Regions from separate parts of the Homo sapiens genome. Here all the other regions are linked to region 2. The links are contacts of gene promoters, found by promoter capture Hi-C in blood cells and fetal thymus (Javierre and others, 2016). All regions are on one chromosome and are shown on one strand. The core of a region is centred on a gene start or on the middle of the fragment in contact, and the rest is flanking DNA. Distances in the headings are between cores, read along the strand shown.

What was found. Contacts are between HindIII fragments. The CHiCAGO score rates a contact against its expected background, and 5 or more counts as called.
Region 1: the fragment with the promoter of OR8H3 here is called in contact with the fragment with the promoter of OR5T2 in region 2 in 4 of 17 cell types (neutrophils, monocytes, total CD4 T cells and 1 more); the score reaches 10.1 in neutrophils.
Region 3: the fragment with the promoter of OR8K3 here is called in contact with the fragment with the promoter of OR5T2 in region 2 in 7 of 17 cell types (neutrophils, naive CD8 T cells, total CD4 T cells and 4 more); the score reaches 12.1 in neutrophils.
Region 4: the fragment with the promoter of OR8J3 here is called in contact with the fragment with the promoter of OR5T2 in region 2 in 13 of 17 cell types (neutrophils, total CD4 T cells, fetal thymus and 10 more); the score reaches 17.6 in neutrophils.
Region 5: the fragment with the promoter of OR8K1 here is called in contact with the fragment with the promoter of OR5T2 in region 2 in 1 of 17 cell types (neutrophils); the score reaches 6.9 in neutrophils.

The regions. Positions count from the first base shown.
Region 1 is chr11:56,119,725-56,123,909 of GRCh38, forward strand. OR8H3 (olfactory receptor family 8 subfamily H member 3) reads left to right here and starts at 2,649. Exons shown (of 1, transcript NM_001005201.1): 1 at 2,649-3,587. The coding sequence starts at 2,649. The coding sequence ends at 3,587. The HindIII fragment of the contact is 10,899 bases long and covers 1-3,355 here.
Region 2 is chr11:56,232,176-56,235,855 of GRCh38, forward strand. OR5T2 (olfactory receptor family 5 subfamily T member 2) reads right to left here and starts at 2,080. Exons shown (of 2, transcript NM_001004746.4): 1 at 2,002-2,080; 2 at 1-1,089. The coding sequence starts at 887. The HindIII fragment of the contact is 5,726 bases long and covers 1-3,680 here.
Region 3 is chr11:56,313,688-56,317,737 of GRCh38, forward strand. It overlaps OR8K3 (olfactory receptor family 8 subfamily K member 3 (gene/pseudogene)), which reads left to right and starts at 1,457. Exons shown (of 3, transcript NM_001005202.2): 1 at 1,457-1,480; 2 at 2,313-2,370. The HindIII fragment of the contact is 10,208 bases long and covers 1-4,050 here.
Region 4 is chr11:56,138,323-56,142,290 of GRCh38, forward strand. OR8J3 (olfactory receptor family 8 subfamily J member 3) reads right to left here and starts at 1,879. Exons shown (of 2, transcript NM_001004064.2): 1 at 1,851-1,879; 2 at 1-175. The HindIII fragment of the contact is 14,492 bases long and covers 1-3,968 here.
Region 5 is chr11:56,343,498-56,347,342 of GRCh38, forward strand. It overlaps OR8K1 (olfactory receptor family 8 subfamily K member 1), which reads left to right and starts at 2,542. Exons shown (of 1, transcript NM_001002907.1): 1 at 2,542-3,501. The coding sequence starts at 2,542. The coding sequence ends at 3,501. The HindIII fragment of the contact is 5,993 bases long and covers 1-3,792 here.

The DNA of each region.
Region 1 (4,185 bases), core at 1,399-3,898, 110 kb before region 2:
TGAATAGAATCGCTCTTCCCAAAACTCATCAAAGGTACAATAAATACATACAAATGTAGCGCTTTATACCTACCAACAGATTATCTCCTGAAATTCTAGATTATGGGCATGCTTTCCTTCTAGACTCACTTTAAAATTTACATAAAATTGATTTTTTTATAATGACTTAAGATTCACTTTAATATTTTACTCTGTTTCACATTTTATATTGTTTCAGAATCTTCCCTTGCTTCCTCATCTTGGACAAATAATTCTCAGTAGAATATTTCAGCTCTCTTTTTATATTTTAATTTTAACTCATATTTAAGGAAAAAATTGACCTGACTATACATGGAGGAAGTATGTTTTGGGCTACTAAATTAATTATAAAATGTTTATTAGTCTCATGGCTGATTTTGTTTTTCTGCTCTCACTTTTGTTTCATAAAATTTTAAAAAGTACATGAAAACAGCAAAACATAGTGCACAAATATTGCATGTAGATGAATTAGGTGACACCACCACACCAGAATGAATAACCTACACCACTTTCTGATAATGCTTCAAAATGTCTGTTTATCAGCTCGTAAACACATAGTTAACTTAGTAAGTTACGGGGCACTAACCAATACATGAACCGTAGAATTGTGTGGTTGATAAAAGGTTAATATAAGATAGCTCATGGCATAGCATAAAATTTTGGTTATTAAATGAGCAAAAGACACTGACTGTATAGTACAATAATTGTTATGCCATCTATAAGTACATGTACAAATAAGGCACAAAGGAAAATAATTAGGAAAAATTATAATGTTAACAAAATGTTAACGACAGTTTTGAATTGTTTTCATTTACTTTTTTTGAATTTTGTTATCTTCTGATTCTTTTCCAATTAACATGGTTTACATATACGATAGTATCGCACTTTTAAATATTAAGAAATTTAATTGTGAAAAATGTATTATTCCATCTTTGATGATGTCAGTCACAGAGTAACTATTTTTTCTGGAAATGCCTTCTCCACCACGCCTGTAAAATATTGAGAACATCACAAGAAAAGACCAATTCATAATTTCCTTCATTTGTGTGGCTTCTAAGGTAAAAAGGAAAATCTTTGCACAAAGCCTAACATGGCTACATTTAGTCCTTGAACTTTTGTGCTTGGAAACATGCCAAACAATCTGCCTTGGCAAATGGCCCCCAGGGCCTACCAAAAGGTGCATTGTCATCAGCCTCTGGTATATGAGATCCTCTGGAATTATCCGAGTGAGAGGGAAAGAATAATCTCCTTATGGTCACAGTGGCTGCCGGTCTTCTTTGACACATAACTTCTTGGTAATCTTTCCATTAGACCAGAACCTAAACAAAATTTCTAGATTGGTTTATCATAACTCAGAATAAAACATAATGAATGCACCAAAATGTAAAAACAACTTATCTCAAGGAAAACAAATATTATAAAAATTTTCATCTCCTTAAATAGTTTTCTTATTTTATTTATAACAAAAATTTGAAGTTGACAAATTTCCATACAGATAATATAAGAAGAAAGTTTTTTCATGAATGTTGACTTACACACAGTAAGTATTATTCTCAAAATTGGAAGATTTTGTTTCACATTTTACTTCAGATGAAATAAAATGGGGACTTTCGCAGAATAATATATTAATATATATTAATGTATATATTAATATATACACATATCATTTACTCTCTACCCTAAGTAATGTCAGGGTTTGTGAGACAAATGTAGAGTTGCCAGAATCAGAGTCTACAAGCAAAGTATACATTTTGAAAATATAATTTTTTGGAAGAAATTAGATTTTGATTAGTTATGTCAGGAAAACATCACATCTTTTATAAATTAATACTTATATATTGTCTATAATTTTAATGTACCTGACTAAAAACCCCAAGGGTGAAATTTATTGAAAATTATTATTAAATAATATTGGAAACAAAAGGGCAGTAAATTATATAATAAAACTGTTTCCTCTCATTTTTTATTACATGTCCACCTCTTTTCTCAAGTTTTCTGAAATTATTTATAAACAAGATTGTAGTATTATAAGCCTTCTCTCTGAAGGAATATATCTTTGTAGAATCAGTGTCAACATTGAATTGATCTGACTTTGGATAAGTTACTCCAACCTTCCATACTCTTTTTTTCCCTCACCTAAACTATGTGGATAATAGTAGTATCTATGGTATAATATTTTCAGGTGGATTAAATATATTAATAAAGGAAGCCATTCAGAACAATGTCAGGTTCATTCTAATTATGCAATATGCTACATTTTATTATAACATATGCAAATGTTAATTTGAACTTATATCTATATTGGCAATAAAATTAGTCTCTTTAGTCATATTCTATAAATTTATTAGCAATTTGTAGAATGTTAAACTAATTATTAAATGCTAGGTCATTCATATAAACAGAAATTTTTTTTGATTGTTTTGTTTATTTTTTTTGAGTCGGAGTCTGGCACAGTTGCTGGGGCTGCAATGCAATAGTGTGATCCCAGCTCACTGCAACCTCTGGCTCACTGCAACCTCCGGCTCCCATGTTCAAGCGATTCTCCTGCCTCAGCTTCTCCAGTAGCTGGGAGTACAGGCGCCCCTGCTACGTATCAACTTTGATTTCTCAGCAGTTTAGAGCAGGTGAACATGATGGGTAGAAGGAATGACACAAATGTGGCTGACTTCATCCTTACGGGACTGTCAGACTCTGAAGAGGTCCAGATGGCTCTGTTTATGCTATTTCTCCTCATATACCTAATTACTATGCTGGGGAATGTGGGGATGCTATTGATAATCCGCCTGGACCTCCAGCTTCACACTCCCATGTATTTTTTCCTTACTCACCTGTCATTTATTGACCTCAGTTACTCAACTGTCGTCACACCTAAAACCTTAGCGAACTTACTGACTTCCAACTATATTTCCTTCACGGGCTGCTTTGCCCAGATGTTCTGTTTTGTCTTCTTGGGTACTGCTGAATGTTATCTTCTCTCCTCAATGGCCTATGATCGCTATGCAGCGATCTGCAGTCCTCTACACTACACAGTTATTATGCCCAAAAGGCTCTGCCTCGCTCTCATCACTGGGCCTTATGTGATTGGCTTTATGGACTCCTTTGTCAATGTGGTTTCCATGAGCAGATTGCATTTCTGTGACTCAAACATAATTCATCACTTTTTCTGTGACACTTCCCCAATTTTAGCTCTGTCCTGCACTGACACAGACAACACTGAAATGCTGATATTCATTATCGCTGGTTCCACCCTGATGGTGTCCCTTATCACAATATCTGCATCCTATGTGTCCATTCTCTCTACCATCCTGAAAATTAATTCCACTTCAGGAAAGCAGAAAGCTTTCTCTACTTGCGTCTCTCATCTCTTGGGAGTCACCATCTTCTATGGAACTATGATTTTTACTTACTTAAAGCCAAGAAAGTCTTATTCCTTGGGAAGAGATCAAGTGGCTCCTGTGTTTTATACTATTGTGATTCCCATGCTGAATCCACTCATTTATAGTCTTAGAAACAGAGAAGTGAAAAATGCTCTCATTAGAGTCATGCAGAGAAGACAGGACTCCAGGTAGTTAAAATAGCAGAAATGGAACATTTAATCTCATCTTTTCTTTCATTCCTATTGGGTATTTTCTTAGTCTCTCTATAAAAACAATTGAATCCTTTAATTTATTTGCATTTCTGTTGTGCTACTCTTTGCTTGACTAAACATGATTTAAAACATTTCAAGGCATATGTTTTTAGAAATCCAAATGGTAATTAGAATCATAATATGTGTGTCATGTTTTGAAGCAACTGATGTGGAAAATAAGAAAATAAGGTTGTCATTTTTAATTATATTATTCAAATTCTTATGTATGCTTCAACTGTAGATAAATTTATTATGGAAAGAATATTTGAGACACGGTGATAATAGTTTTAGATGTTATTCCATTTATTATGTGGGGAAGAATCATAGCAGAGTGGGTAGGAGTACTTACTTTGGAATAAAATTTTCCAAGAGTTAGATTCTAAATATGCTACACTTTTAGCTGTGTAGCCATTAATATGTTACCTAAAGCTTAAGCCTCCTTTCCCTAAGTGCGCAAGATAAATAACTCCAAATCTGATCAGAGGGTAGTTGTAGAGTATTTAAAGCGATAATAATTAATGCTTCCCATTATCATTAGA
Region 2 (3,680 bases), core at 830-3,329:
TTTACATCTTTGTTCCTCAAACTGTAGATGACGGGATTCAGCAAGGGAATCACAATGGTGTAAAATATTGACACTATCATGTCATGGTCCGAAGCATAGCTGGAACTTGGTCTCACATACATGAAGAGGATTGTCCCATAATAAATTGACACTCCAGTTAGGTGAGCTCCACATGTGGAGAAGACTTTTCTCCTCCCTTCAGCAGAATACATCTTCAGAATGGCCAACAGAATCAAACCATAGGAGATCAGAACAATCAGGATAGTGACCAGCTCGATAGAGCCCACAAAGTAGAAGAGTAGAAGCTGGTTTGTGTGAGTGTCAGAATAAGAAATAGCAAGGAGAGGAGGGATATCACAAAAGACACGCCTAATTTCATTGGCTCCACAGAAGGATAGGCTAAATGTAGCCACTGTATGTATAGTAGCATGTAAAATGCCAGCAACATAGGAAGCATTGATGAGTGGCATGTAGACTCTGGGTGACATGCTCACTGAATACAGGAGAGGGTTGTAGATGGCTACATAGCGATCATAAGCCATTGCAGCCAAGAGAAAGCATTCTGTGGTTCCAAAACTACAAGCAAGAAACACCTGTGCTACACATCCAAGGAATGAAATGACTTTATTCTTTGTCGTAAAATCTACTAACATATTTGGGGTAATAACTGAGGAATAGCAGGCATCCACAGAAGACAACATACTCAGAAAATAGTACATGGGTTTGTGGAGCTGGGAATCCCTAATGACCACTAAAATCAGTCCTAAATTTCCCATGAGAGTGAAGAGGTAGATTGCTAGAAACAGGAAGAAGAAGATAGTCTGCAGTTCAAGATTGTCTGTGAAGCCCTTCAGTACAAATAAGGTAACTTCAGTGACATTCTTCATGTTGAAATCTAGAACAAACTTGAAGATATGCATAAAGTTACAGTTCATATTATGACAAAAAGAATGAACAACACCATGACTCAAGGGGATGTTAACTGTGCTCTTGTATATACTGTACGACATATATTCAGCAGTGCATAATTCTCTAGTAGTGAATCAGAAGACAGTGACAAACTGGTCAGCCATGTGTTCATGCCACTCACTGCAGAATCAAATGGAAGAAATGGACGTTCATTAGTTGGCTGGACTTATTCTGTTTCTAAAATCATCAGGTCTACTGGTTAATTTACCACTGAATTGTATTAAGCTGTTTATATATTAAATAATATTAAAACACACAAAAATGAGTGGCTTAAACAATCTTTGGGCATCCAAATACACAAGAGACTGTATCAGGGGACAGAGCATTGGAATACAATACCAGAATTTTAGAACTTGTAGCAATTGTGCAAAATGATTTGCTATATCTACTTGTCTATAGAATGAGAACATTAATAGTTTGTTCACAAGATTGGAGTAAATATTGAAGGAAAATTGCATTAATAAAATATAATATGTAAAATAATTTTGATTATAGAATATGCTGAATTAAGTTGGTTCTACATTCTATCAAGATTAAATCCAATGAACAGTTATGATTTTTTTCATCTGCTCATTCAAATGTCTCTGAATTATTCTTTGGAGAATGAAGAAGTTTTGTGAATTACTTGATCATTTTATGCCAAAAATAAACATGCAAATTACCATGATTCCATTTTCTACATTACAATTGTCTTAATTTTGCTTTGTGCAAATAAGATACTTCAACCAAATTTCTTGTGAGACAGGCATTTCTACTAGATGCCAAAATAAGTTATATTGGGTAAAAATTAAGTTAATATTAGCACATAGTCAAAGATTCAGAGTTATAAAGAGAAAATCACTATGATTCTTGAAGATTTAATAATATAGAATCAACTTTTTAAATTAATGCAAATCTATTTTTATGAAACAAATTTTAATGGAAGGGAGAAAACTTTAAATATCGTGAATGTAATAACGAAACACTAAGTTTGCTAAATAACAGGCATTTATTTAGCACTTGCTGCAAGAACAGACATTTCTTGTACATTACCTTATTTCACCTTTATAGCAACTTTCATAGCTAACAATTTCCAGAGCCAAGATTCAATCCCAGGTTTCTCTCATTGTACATGAAATTTTTGCATTTTTTCATGGCCTCATAAATGGCTTCATTCTGCAACTGGAACACTCTTCCTCTTACCCCTCTGCTGACCTCAGGGAAATAAAGGTAAAGCAAAACATGATTCTCGATGTATTTGTATTTTTTAAGCCATTAAATCTAGAGAAACATAAAATAAGTAGCAATCTGAAGTGACTTCTAGATTATAAAGCCAGAAAATAAATTTAAAATAAGTATTGATTGTTTTCCTTATTACTTCAAAATACAAGACCCCAGATAAATGAATAAGTCAAATGTTTTTTTGCCCTTTGTTGATATTTATTGGTAAATTCATGACCTTTGAACTATCTTTATCTATAAGAAAAATACAAGCATATACTCTATTAGGAGCACTCTTATTTATCTCTATAAGTACAAATACAATATTTTCTATTTTTTATTGTTTTCTAGTAAGTGTTGGATTTTAATTCTTAGGCATAACTCTAAATAAATCATATTTTGATGAATACACTTGATTCACATATGTAATAGTCCAGAACTGAAGTGTTTAGTTCTTGGTGTTTAGCAGCTAAAAAGTTTAGTAAAAAAAAACATAGTTATTCTTGATATTGTAGGTTCTAGCTGCCGAAATATTCTTCAAATTATCTGAAATTTTCTCTTACCTGTGGAACAGCAAATGCAGATTTAGGTATTCTATGAATATGGCTAACTTAGATTGTTTATATCTTTGTAATTGACTGTTGATGAAATCCAAGGAGATGTCCCAAGGGGAATATGCCCCAATTATCTTCTGTTTCAAAATAGCACCATGATGATTTACTTAATAATAAAAAGTAAATGATTCCGGAATAAGGCACTGCATGCTCCTACTTATTGAATCAATAGAGTTCTTTGGCTTCTGTTTAAAATGTGTCAGATTTGAATTTCCCTGATGACTACTGATGTTGAACATCTTTTCATACATCTGAAGGCCATTTGTATGTCTTCTTTGGAAAAAAAATGTATTCAAGTCCTTTGCCAGTTTTAAAATAAGATTATTGTTATTGTGGCTATTGAATTTATATATTTTGATATTAATCCCCTATTAGATATATCATTTACAAATATTTTTTGTTTGGCTGATGGTTTTCTTCATTGTGCAGAAGATTTTGACTTTGACGTAGCCCTACTTGTCTAATTTTGGTTTTGTTACTTGGCTTTTTATGTCATTGCTTGTATTTTTATGTTACATCCAACAAGTTACTGCCAAGCTGAAGGTCCTAAAGTTTTTCCTTATGTTTTCTTCTAGAAATTGTAGTTTCAGGTTTTATGTTTAAATTTTTAATCCATTTTGGGTTGGTTATTTTATATGGTATAAGACAAGGGTCCAATTTAATTTCCCATTGTGTATTCTTGGCACACTTGTGAAAGATCATTTGACTATATACATGTGGGATTGTTTCCAGGCTCCCTATTCTGTTCCGTTGGTCTATATATCTGTCCTTATTCCAGTCCCATGCTATTTAATTACTGTAGTTTTGTAATATCATTGAAATAAAAAAGTATAATACCTCTAGCTTTGTTTTTCTTTCTCAAGATTCCTTTGGCTATTTGAAGTCTTTTGTAATTGC
Region 3 (4,050 bases), core at 207-2,706, 81 kb after region 2:
CATGCAACTGAATCAATAGACAAAACAGGAAGTTATCACACTTGATCCTGACTTTCCAGGGGAAATTGGGCTATTACTTCACAATACAAGGAAGAATAAGCCTGGAATATGGGACATTCCTTAGGACATCTTTTATTAATAAGAAAAACTGTAATAATAATATACGGAAAACTGTAATAGCCCAAACTAGCCAGAACTACTAATGGCCCACATTCTTCAGGAATAAAGGTTTGGGCCACTTCACAAGGAAAAAAGAACCATGGCCAACTAAGGTGCTTGCTAAAGACAAAAGGAATAGAGTATGGAAAGAAGAAGAAGACGGTTATAAATACCAGCTATAATCATGTGGCCAGTTCAGAAATGAGGACTGTAATTGTAATGAGAATTCCATCCTAATTTTATTATAAATATGTCTGTGTATTTATTAAGATGCTTTATTCCATTTTTTATTACCTTATTATATAAATATGATATATGGACTTTACATCAATATTTAAATATTGTTACTTTTACACTGTAGAATTTTACTCTGAGAAAATCAGGAGAAGAGTCAGTATCACTCAAAGAATATATGTCCTGATTGGAATAAAGGATTAGTGAGTTTTTATTTATATGCCGGATAGTTGTGTCATGTAAAGCAAAACTATGACCTTGTTATTGTCTATGTTTAGAGAGACTAAGTATGGTTTAAGTACATGCTTATGTTTGCCAAGCTGACAAGGGGTGGAGTAATGACGATTAAAGTGTTGACTTAACTAGGCTATATGATGCCCAGATAGCTGGCAAACATTATTTCTGGGTGTGCCTGTGAGGATACTCCTGGAAGAGACTACGATTGTTAGACAGAGTAACTATCATCCTCACCAATATAGGTGGGTATCAGTGCAATCAATTGAGGCCTTGAATAAAACAAAAAGACAGAGGAAGGGTGAGTTCACTCCCTGCTTAAGCTAGGACATCCTTCGCTTCCTGCCATCAGACATTGACATCCCAGATTCCAGAGCCTTCGAATTCAGACTATGATGTACACCCTTGGCTCCCCTGGCTCCCAATATTTCAAGTTTGAACTGAATCTATACCACCAGCTTTCTTGAAGTTTGCAGACAGCAAATCACAGGAATCCTCAGCCTACATAATTGCATAAAACAATTCATAATAAATCTCTATTATCTATCTATCTATCTATCTATCTATCTATCTATCTATCATCTATCTATCTATCTATCATCTCTCATCTAACTATCTCTTCTTAGTACTGTTTTTCTGGAGAACTCTGATACACTAGTGAATACAAACTGTCTTCTACAACTAATGGACAGCCTCAAACATTTTGTTATGCTCTCAAATGCTTTAGGAATTATCAATAAATTGCCTGCCATCTCCTCAGGGAGAGTCTCAAAAGATTAAAAAATGCATAAATTGTTCTCACTGTGCCATGTGAGAGACACATGGAGGAGTCAAGACAGAGGCTTCCTTACAGGTAAAAAAAAAAAAAGTAAGAATGTTTCTTGTGGTGTCATATGTTACAGATATCTATAATGCTTCAGTGACATTGGAAAACTGCCACTTTAATTTGATGACATAACCATAGTAAAGTGTGACAATTTCTGATTCATTTCTCCGGGATTTCTGTTACTCAATAATGCCTAAGCAGAAATAACGGTGCTCCATTTTTCATATGCTTTTTAAGTATTTTACATGGTTTCACAGGCTGAATGCTATAAGCATCTTTGAAACATTATCATGATATTGTTTCTAAAGTATTCATTTTACATATTTTTCTCTAATTGAGGCCAAAACTTGGAGAAAATAAAGCACAATGACAAGGAGATAAATATATTTTTAATGAAAGAATGGAGAAACTGCAACTATTTGGTCAGTCATGTTCATGTCCTTCCAAATACTTGTTATTTAGATGCTCTAGGCTCTCAGACCCCTTAACAATAATTTAACACTGAATGATTATTCAAATAAATGTGTAGATATGATTGTTTTCTCACTGCTTGGTGAGTCAAAAAGGGGGTTGCTACCTTACATTCGAATGTGAAAAGCATTATTAAAAATTATGAGGCTTTTTGGGTAATCATAGGCACAGAAAAAAAAAACATTTTAAAATAGAAGAAAATAAAATTAGGAGACTGTTAAGTACCCAGTTTTAGGGAACAATACAATTTTCAGAAAGTACTTCAATTTCCACTAAGAGTTGACAAAAGCAGATATTATTTTCTCAAAGATTGTAGCTTTAAAAAATGCAATTGATATTCAACAAAGACAGCAAAATATGAAAAAAAGCAATCTGGTTCTTTCCACAGAACTCCAAAGATGGTGAAAGGAACCTCATTTATATTTCCTTACCTAACAAGAAAACAGGTACTTATCCATGATATTATTTGCCTTTCTAAATTGCCAAACTGTACAAAACAAGCAAACAAAATACAGGATTTATGCTGCTCATCATCTTATTTACTAAAGATATTTATCTAACTTTTCCATCTACTGCCACACATTACCATATATCTAATATGAGAAAGGTGTGTTCATTGAGTCAGGGTAGGATAGGAGTAGGTCATAATTTTATTTAAAAAATTAAGTTCAAATAATATGTAATCATCTTTATATTTAATGTAACACAATTGCTTGTCTTTATTTTTTCATAGCTCACTCTGAGATTGCTGTCACTATAATTTTCATTGTAAAAACTATTTTCTTTCTTTTCTTTTTTCAAAAAACATTGGGGCTTACGATTTTTTTTAACTAATAATGATTATCTTAGGTTATCATGCCCTCCATCTCCTGCTCTACTATATTTTAAATCTGTGGGTTATTGGGGGATATTTAGATATATATTTATTCGATTATACATATGTTAATTTGTATTATGTGCTATACCATATTTCCTAGTTTCTGTGGCTTGCATGTTCAGAAAAGTTTTAAATCACAGCCAGAAATCCACGTATATCTCATGTTTAGTGTATTCATTTTGTCTCTATGTTATTGTGTAACAAGGTGACTTTTAATCATTTCTTTAATCTACAGTATCCTTTTACCCAAAAAGTAGCTTTTACTAATTTTCATTATACAAAACCAATATGAAGGACCACATTTTCTCCCAATTTGTTCAGATTTCCTCAAACTCCCCTAAGATTTTGTATGATAAAACAAACTTAACGTTCACATTCAAGTTAGCATTTCTCAATTATATTGAGAATAAAACTATGGGAAGATTAATGTTTTAATAAAGTTTATATAAAAATAATTTATTTAAAATGTTATTAAATTCGTTGTGAAAAATAGATAAGTAATCCAAAACAATAGCATACCAATTACCCAAGTTTAGTCATGAATTGGGGGAGGGGAGAAGAACTGCCCTAAGTTGCAAGTATTACATCCTACTTGACCTGTGACTCCCCTAGGCATCATTATGGTCCTAACAAAGAAGTTAATTCATAGTCAGAATAATGTATGTGTACACATGTAAAAAAAACCTCTTTCAAGTAAGGCATTGTCACAATTAAAACAAATAACAAGAAGAAGAAAACTCACAATGTACTTGATGTTTTAGAACTACTTCTAGGCAGCAAAGACACATTGAATCACTTAATCTTCAGTCATCCTTCCCAACAATTCTGCAATGACATGTTGGTTCTGGATATTAGAACAAACAGTTTTAGATAACTTACACTATTTGCCTAAAATAACCTTTCAAATATGACATAAATTAAGATATAGTGTAGAATATATCTATATCCATATATTTCCTGATATTTTTTGCTTTGTAAATATAAATAATTGCCACTGTCATCTGTTATGCTGCTCTTACTCATATGCCTAATATCTGTCAACTCTATTAAAGTCTCAGCTGTACCACCCGAAGAGATAAGGGTATTCACAGGATGATGTTTTGAAGCAGGTGGTTTTATGCATTTTTGGAATCTGTGACAGAAATTTTTTATATAACTAAAATTGTATTATGTCACAATTTTAATCTATAAATATGACCAAGCTCTAAAAACATAGTACAATAATTGTTCATATATCAGATATCCACGG
Region 4 (3,968 bases), core at 629-3,128, 94 kb before region 2:
GATCTATTTTTCAGGTAGCTGTTTCTCTTCTTAGGTTTCCATAAATAATATCAGTAAAATTTTGTGCAGGCGTGGTGGCTCAAACCGGTAATCCCAGCACTTTGGGAGGCCGAGGCGGGCAGATCATGAGGTCAGGAGATGGAGACCACCCTGGCTAACACAGTGAAACCCCTTTCTACAAACAAACAAACAAAAAAAAATAATTAGCCGTGCGTCGTGGCGGGCGCCTGTAGTCCCAGCTACTCGGGAGGCTGAGGCAGGAGAATGGCGTGGACCCTGGAGGCGGAGCTTGCAGTGAGCCGAGATTGCGCCAGTGAGCCGAGATTGCGCCACTGCACTCCAGCCTGGGCGACAGAGCGAGACTCCGTCTCAAAAAAAAAAAAAAATCAGTAAGATTTTTATCATTTTTGTAATTCCTCAACATTATGCTTTCCTGGGTACTACTTTCTATTTCTTCCCTCTCATGACTATTCTTTTCCTTGTGCTAAAAGTTCGTACAATACTCCGTGTTTTTTTCATGATTTTTCTTTTAATTCAATTTTTTGTTTATAAAATGTTATATTTCTTAAATTTACACAATACACCTGCTCTTAATTTTAGCTGATCTGTTTTTTTTACGTTTTTTGATATTTATATTATTGTAACAGGAATAAACACCTTCATTTTGAGGGTTTTTATGATAATTATGTTGCATGTATTTGCCATAGATTCAGCGTGCTATTTTAGTATGGATGAACACTTTCCTAGAGTTGTATATTTTAATCATGATTATTTGCCCCTAACTAAGTGAATTCATGTCCTGTTGGAGTCACAATTGATAGTTCCAGTGGTGGGCACCTGGTCCAAATAAGTCTTATCATATAGTTCTTTATTTTAAAGTTCACAATTAAGTTCCAGAAAGTTAAGAATATATTATCACACAGATCTGAATTTTAAAAGCCCAGAGCTATTCAGTTTCTCTCCTTCTAAAAGAGATAGAATAGAAAGAGAAACAAATGATTATTCTACAGTGAGAAAAAATAAAGAAGTGACTACTTAAAAAAAGAAAACAGAGAAATAACACCAAAATGACTCCTAACGTTGTTGGATATCTGGTACCAGTTTGTTTGATGATACCAAGCATAAATTTTTCCTGTGGGTTCTGTGAATTATCCTCTTATTTTCCACATATTTATTAAAATTCTACTTTGTTCCAGGCTATGTTCGAGCTTCAGATAAATTACCTGACCCTCAGATCGTGAATATGTTATTGTAATGATAGGGAAGAGAAAAATCTGTTAAGAAGGCATATAAACACAATAATTGCAGATTTAAATAAGCATAATAGGTAAAACAAACAAGATAATATACTAGGATAACCTGGGAGAGTACTATCACATAGAATATTAATATTAATACTTTTACAAGGAAGGCTCTTCTGAGAAGGTGGCATTTGAATTGAAACCTAAAGGTGGAGAAGGAATTAGCTATTTAATCAGTCACAGGAAGGGCATTCCAGGATTCCAGGCAAGAATTAATTTCTTGAAAATGCGTATCTGGGAAAAAATATGGCCTATGCCACATCTGTTCTTCATTCAGATAAAGTTATCCTGCCTTTAGAATATGTTCTTATAAATGCTGTAACGTGCATAGATAGGAAATGAGAATAGGACAGGAGGGGCACTAGGTAAATAATGATAGACAAAGATCCTTGTTAAAAATAGTTGAAAAGCATGAAACATTAAGTTAATAGCCCTATATTGCAAGGGAGGAAATAGTTTTGCAGAGTATAGGGGCCTTCAACATCTTTGGTGATAACCTAGTTTAAACTCTGCCCTTGAAAATTGTCAATGATCAATGTTTCTACTTACTTCAACAGAGAATCTGCTTTGCTTTCTACTTCTTTAGCCCTCACAGGTGGCTACAGAATAGATTTAAGGTTTTTTTCTAAAACCCTTGAGACTCATTTAGTTGAAGTTTCAATCTGATTCAAGGATAAAAAATTGTACATAATTACCTGAGGGAGAGTGCCTTGGATATTTGTTAATTATTCTCAGAATTTTCCATTAGAAAAAGTCATAATATTTTATGTTTCAGTCTAACTGAATAATTGAATTATGCAATATGACTAAACACAGGAAATTATAAATATGACTTTGTCAGCATTTTGGTTACACAGTATTTTGCTCATATTAAGTATACCACACACAGACACCCATATATGCAATTTGTTAGTAAATGAGAAAAAATTTTCTAGAAAAAAACATGCAAAATTTGATAATACAACATCCATTGACAAAGAATACTTTTGGTGATTATGGTATAATTCTACCAGACATATAGTTATTGGTTGACATAAGAAAGTGTCATGACTTTGGCCGGGCGCGGTGGCTCACGCCTGATATCCCAGCACTTTGGGAGGCCAAGGCGGGCGGATCACGAGGTCAGGAGATCGAGACCATCCTGGCTAACATGGTGAAACCCCGTCTCTACTAAAAATAAAAAAAATAGCCTTGCGTGGTGGCGGGCGCCTGTAGTCCCAGCGACTTGGGAGGCTGAGGCAGGAGAATGGCGTGAATTCAGGAGGCAGAGCTTGCAGTGAGCCGAGACGGCACCACTGCACTCCAGCCTGGGCAACAGAGGGAGACTCAGTCTCAAAAAAAAAAAAAAAAAAACAAAGAAAGTGTCATAGTGTCATGACTTTTATTTTTTCTGCCAATGTATCAGTGGTAAACATTTCTTCATTCGTTTATATCTTTTATCACTAGCAATTTTGAAGAATTTTTTATAATTTTTTATAATTAAATTTTTTATAATTGATGGTGAAGCACTTTGGCATCATTTTCTTTCTGTTTATTTTGCTTGGAGTTATTTTATCCTGTTGTATCTTCATCATTATTAAAAAATAAACTTAGAAATTCTGGCCAACATCTTTTTCCCTGTTTCTTGTCCTATAATATAGTTTTTTCTTTCCACTTAGACCTTATAATTAAACATGTGGTAGGTATCTTGTTATTGTTCTATAGTTGACTGAGACTGTTTCAGTGGGTTTTGTTTTTAGTATTATGTTTCTCTCTGGCTTCATTTTGAGTGTCTATTGTGACAAGTCACATCTTTTCTTTTTCAGTGTATGTTTTTTACTCAATAAATATTTGTTCATATGTAATATTGTATTTTCATTTATTTCTCACAGTGTTGGTATTTGTGCTAAATCATTCAGTATATCCAACATCTATAATAACATTTTGAAGGTTGCACACTGCTGCTTTCTCATAGGACTAGAATTTGTGATTGGATGTTGAATATTGTAAATTTTATAAGAATAATTGCTGTGTTTTATTTTAATTTGTTTTCCTAAAAGAATGATAAATGTTTTAAAATGTACAAGTAATTATTGACTTTAGTCACCTTGTCGTGCTGTCAGTTATCAGTTGACTCTATTCGAGACTTGTTTTCAAGCTGGCAAAGGGGTTTAAAATAGCTTTGTTCCTGAGATTTCTACTGGATGTCTATGTCTTGTAAAAGGACTTTCCACTATGACTTTTTAGAATTCTAATGTCTTCCTGCCCTGTGTAGTTTCTATGAAATGTTTCAGCACACAATTTCCTGGTCATTCTTTTAACAGCTTTATGTCATGCACAAGTCTAGGGTTCAGCCAAAATCTCAAGAAAACTTATGGAGGAAAGGATGACCAACAATAAGGATAGGACCTATAGGAAACAAATAGCAATATGCCAAAAGGATGTTCTCCATTATCTGTGATAACTTTAAATGGACATGGATTACATTCTCCAATTAAAAGAAAGAAATTGACAGAATAAATTAAACAAACCAAAAAAACCACGTGATCCAAATATATGCTATCTGCATGAGTCTGACTCACTTTGTTTAAATAAAATGAAAACAAGATTGAGAATGTACATCCTATTTTAAAAAAAGGCAAAACCCCTACAAAATAAAGATATAGCTTACTAAAATGTAGCTTAATG
Region 5 (3,845 bases), core at 1,292-3,791, 110 kb after region 2:
CTGATTAACACAAAATTCACAATATTCAGCATCCAATCACAAATACTAGGCATTTGAGAAAGCAGGAATATGTGGCCCTATCTTGGAGATAATTCAAGTAGATATTGAAAAGGTATAATGATAGAATTAGCAAGCAAGGGCTTTAAGACAACTGTTATAAATATGTTTAGTAAACTAAATGATTTAACAAAAACATTAACATAGTGAGAAAAAAATGAAGATTTATGAAACAACAGATATGGGGCTTCTAGACATAAATATACAGTATTGGATATAAAAAATATATATTGAGTGAGAACAATGGCAGATTATGAACTGAACAAAAGATGACTTAAACAGTCAACAATGAAGACTACTGAAAATAAAGCCAGAGTAAAAATATACTGAACGAAAACCATGAAAATAGTCTTAGTGATTTGTAGAACAATAACAAGTTATTTAAGTCATGTTTAATTTTAAGTCTAAGTGTAAAGAAGAGATTATATAGTGCAGAAAATACACAGTAAAAAATATTGGCCAGAATTTTCTTCTAAATGTATTTAAAAAAAACCAAAATCCTAGACATACAAAAAGCTAAAATAATTCCAAGTAGGGTAAATTGAAAGGAAATTATGCTAAAATGCATTATAGTCAAATTTCTGAAAACCAATAACAAAGAAAAATTCTTAAAAACAGCCAGAGATAAATGATACATCATAAACAAATGAAGAAATTATTTGCCACTGATTTCTTGACATAAACAATACAATTAATAAAATATTATCTTCTCTCAGCTTAATATAGTTTATAAGAAATTGTTTTATGTCAGTTTATAATCATATATTCAACAAAATATATGTGGTCAATGGATGTATTATCAAATATTATATAACTTTTTTCAAGAAAGTCATTATTTCACTTACTTGTGACTTGTTGGGGATTATATATGTAATATTTGCATGCAATGCTGAAAATGGCATTTGTGATTTCCAGTCTTTAGTGATATTGCATAATTTATTTTTTCAGTTAGACAAAGGCATAAGTATTTACGACTTTTTCTTAATGGAACATTCGGAGAATAATCAACAGATATTCAAGGCACTTTCCCTCAGGTAATTACGTAGAATTTGTTTAACCTTGGGTCAGATTAACATTTCAACACAATGAGTCTCAAGGGAGGAGAAAAAATTTAAATCCATTCGGTAGCCACCTATGAGGCCTAAAGCAGTAGAAAGCAAAGCAAATTCTCCATTGAGGTAAGCGGAAACATTGGTCTTAGAAAATTTCTAAGGGTACATCCTTAAAGCAGGTTGTCACCAAAAATCTGGAAGGGTCCCATTCTCTGCAAAACTGTTGCCTCCCTTGCAATATACTGTTCTGTCATCAATAGGACAGATGTGCAGACAGACCTGTTATACAGTCTCCAATACTCGAGGCTGGTCATTATTTATGCCACCTTAGCTTTCAAATTACTTCATGCTTCAGTCATCTATTTTAACAAAGATCTTTATCATTATTTACCTTGTGTCTTTCCTGTCTCATTCTCACTTCCTAACAATGAAGGGTATCCCTAATGGAGAAGTGGTGTGTTAGAGTGTTTATGAGAACATATTCTGAAGGCAGAATGGCTTTACTTGAATCCTTACACTACAACTTATAATGTGAAAGATCTTTGTTAAATTATCCAACTCTTTGTGCCTCAGTTTCTTTTTCTTTTAAATGGGGATGATATTACTGCCTACTTCCTAAAGTTATTGTGTAGATCATATGAGTTAATATGTGTAAAGCACTTGCAAAATTGCCTAGCATGCTATGGATTTGCTTAGGTTCTTGATATTCATTTGTGTTTCTCTATCCACTGAGCCCTTTTTTATGATTCTCTCTTAAATGTTCATGAATTGTAAGAACAGCCAGATTTTTTTTTTCCTGCAGAAGGATGTATAATTGGGGGATTATACATCCCCCCAATTGCTCACTAGAAGCAGCAATTCAATAGGCAAAAAGTTCAAATGCAGATTAAGATATTATTAACAAAATTCTCAAATTATGGCATAAAATTTTGTTTTTGGTAAACAAGTTGAATTTATAGACAGAAGTATTGACATGTATATAATGATCAGAGATTTCCTACTGCCCTATTCATTACTCCATCTATAGTTTTGAAAATCTTGTCTTGCTTCTTTCAATGATCAGCAAAAATGTAAAGTTTAATGTATAGATGTTTGTTTTACAAATTACCTGAAAATTGTGGTAAGCAGAAACAAAAGTGGTAGCTATTTTTACATAATTAAAATGACTCTGGGTCCAAAAAGTAGGTCATAGTAGCTACATCAAAACAACAACTTCAAAATATCTTGCCCCTTTTAATTATACTTTACCACAGTTTTAATGAATGTGACTGTAGCTTTGTGTGGTTTTGACCTGATGGGAAGAGGAGACTCTATTTAGAATTTGAAATAAAGGAAATACCTCTATTGCTCATACATCAAATTGTTAATTTTCTTAGAAGATAATGTTTCAAATATAATAAATATTGATTTTCTAGTTTGCACAGTTACCAAGATGAATCATGTGGTAAAACACAATCACACGGCAGTGACCAAGGTGACTGAATTTATTCTCATGGGGATTACAGACAACCCTGGGCTGCAGGCTCCACTGTTTGGACTCTTCCTCATCATATATCTGGTCACAGTGATAGGCAATCTGGGCATGGTTATCTTGACCTACTTGGACTCCAAGCTACACACCCCCATGTACTTTTTCCTTAGACATTTGTCAATCACTGATCTTGGTTACTCCACTGTCATTGCCCCGAAGATGTTAGTAAACTTCATAGTGCACAAAAACACAATTTCTTACAATTGGTATGCCACTCAGCTAGCATTCTTTGAGATTTTCATCATCTCTGAGCTCTTTATTCTATCAGCAATGGCCTATGATCGCTACGTAGCCATCTGTAAACCTCTTCTGTACGTGATCATCATGGCAGAGAAAGTACTTTGGGTGCTGGTAATTGTTCCCTATCTCTATAGCACGTTTGTGTCACTATTTCTCACAATTAAGTTATTTAAACTGTCCTTCTGTGGCTCAAACATAATCAGCTATTTTTACTGTGACTGTATCCCTCTGATGTCCATACTCTGTTCTGACACAAATGAATTAGAATTAATAATTTTGATCTTCTCAGGCTGTAATTTGCTCTTCTCCCTCTCAATTGTTCTCATATCCTACATGTTTATTCTAGTGGCCATTCTCAGAATGAACTCAAGGAAAGGGAGGTACAAAGCCTTCTCCACCTGTAGCTCTCATCTGACAGTGGTGATCATGTTCTATGGGACATTGTTATTTATTTACTTGCAACCCAAGTCCAGTCATACTTTGGCTATTGATAAAATGGCCTCAGTGTTTTATACCCTGTTGATTCCTATGCTGAATCCGTTGATCTACAGCCTAAGGAACAAAGAAGTAAAAGATGCTCTAAAGAGAACTTTAACCAATCGATTCAAAATTCCCATTTAATATCTTAATACTCAGTTGCATAGTTGGGTACAATAATCTGTTTAGTACTCTGTCAAACCAATTATAACATAAAAAAAGTAGAAATACTCTATCTGCTTAGATTTTCCTCTTTTTCTGGACAAAACATGTCCTCTTAGAGCAACCTGTACTCTTTGCCACCTCAATGGAATAAATAAATACTATATTCAGGTAATATATGTCCTAAGCAATTTTCGAAATCATACTGGAACCGCTACTATTTATAAATAAGGCAAATTATGTCAAACTTAGAGTTGCAGAGTTAAAATGAAAAGCTTATATAGTTCAAACAGAGTAAAAATAACCGGAAAATTAGTAATAGATAT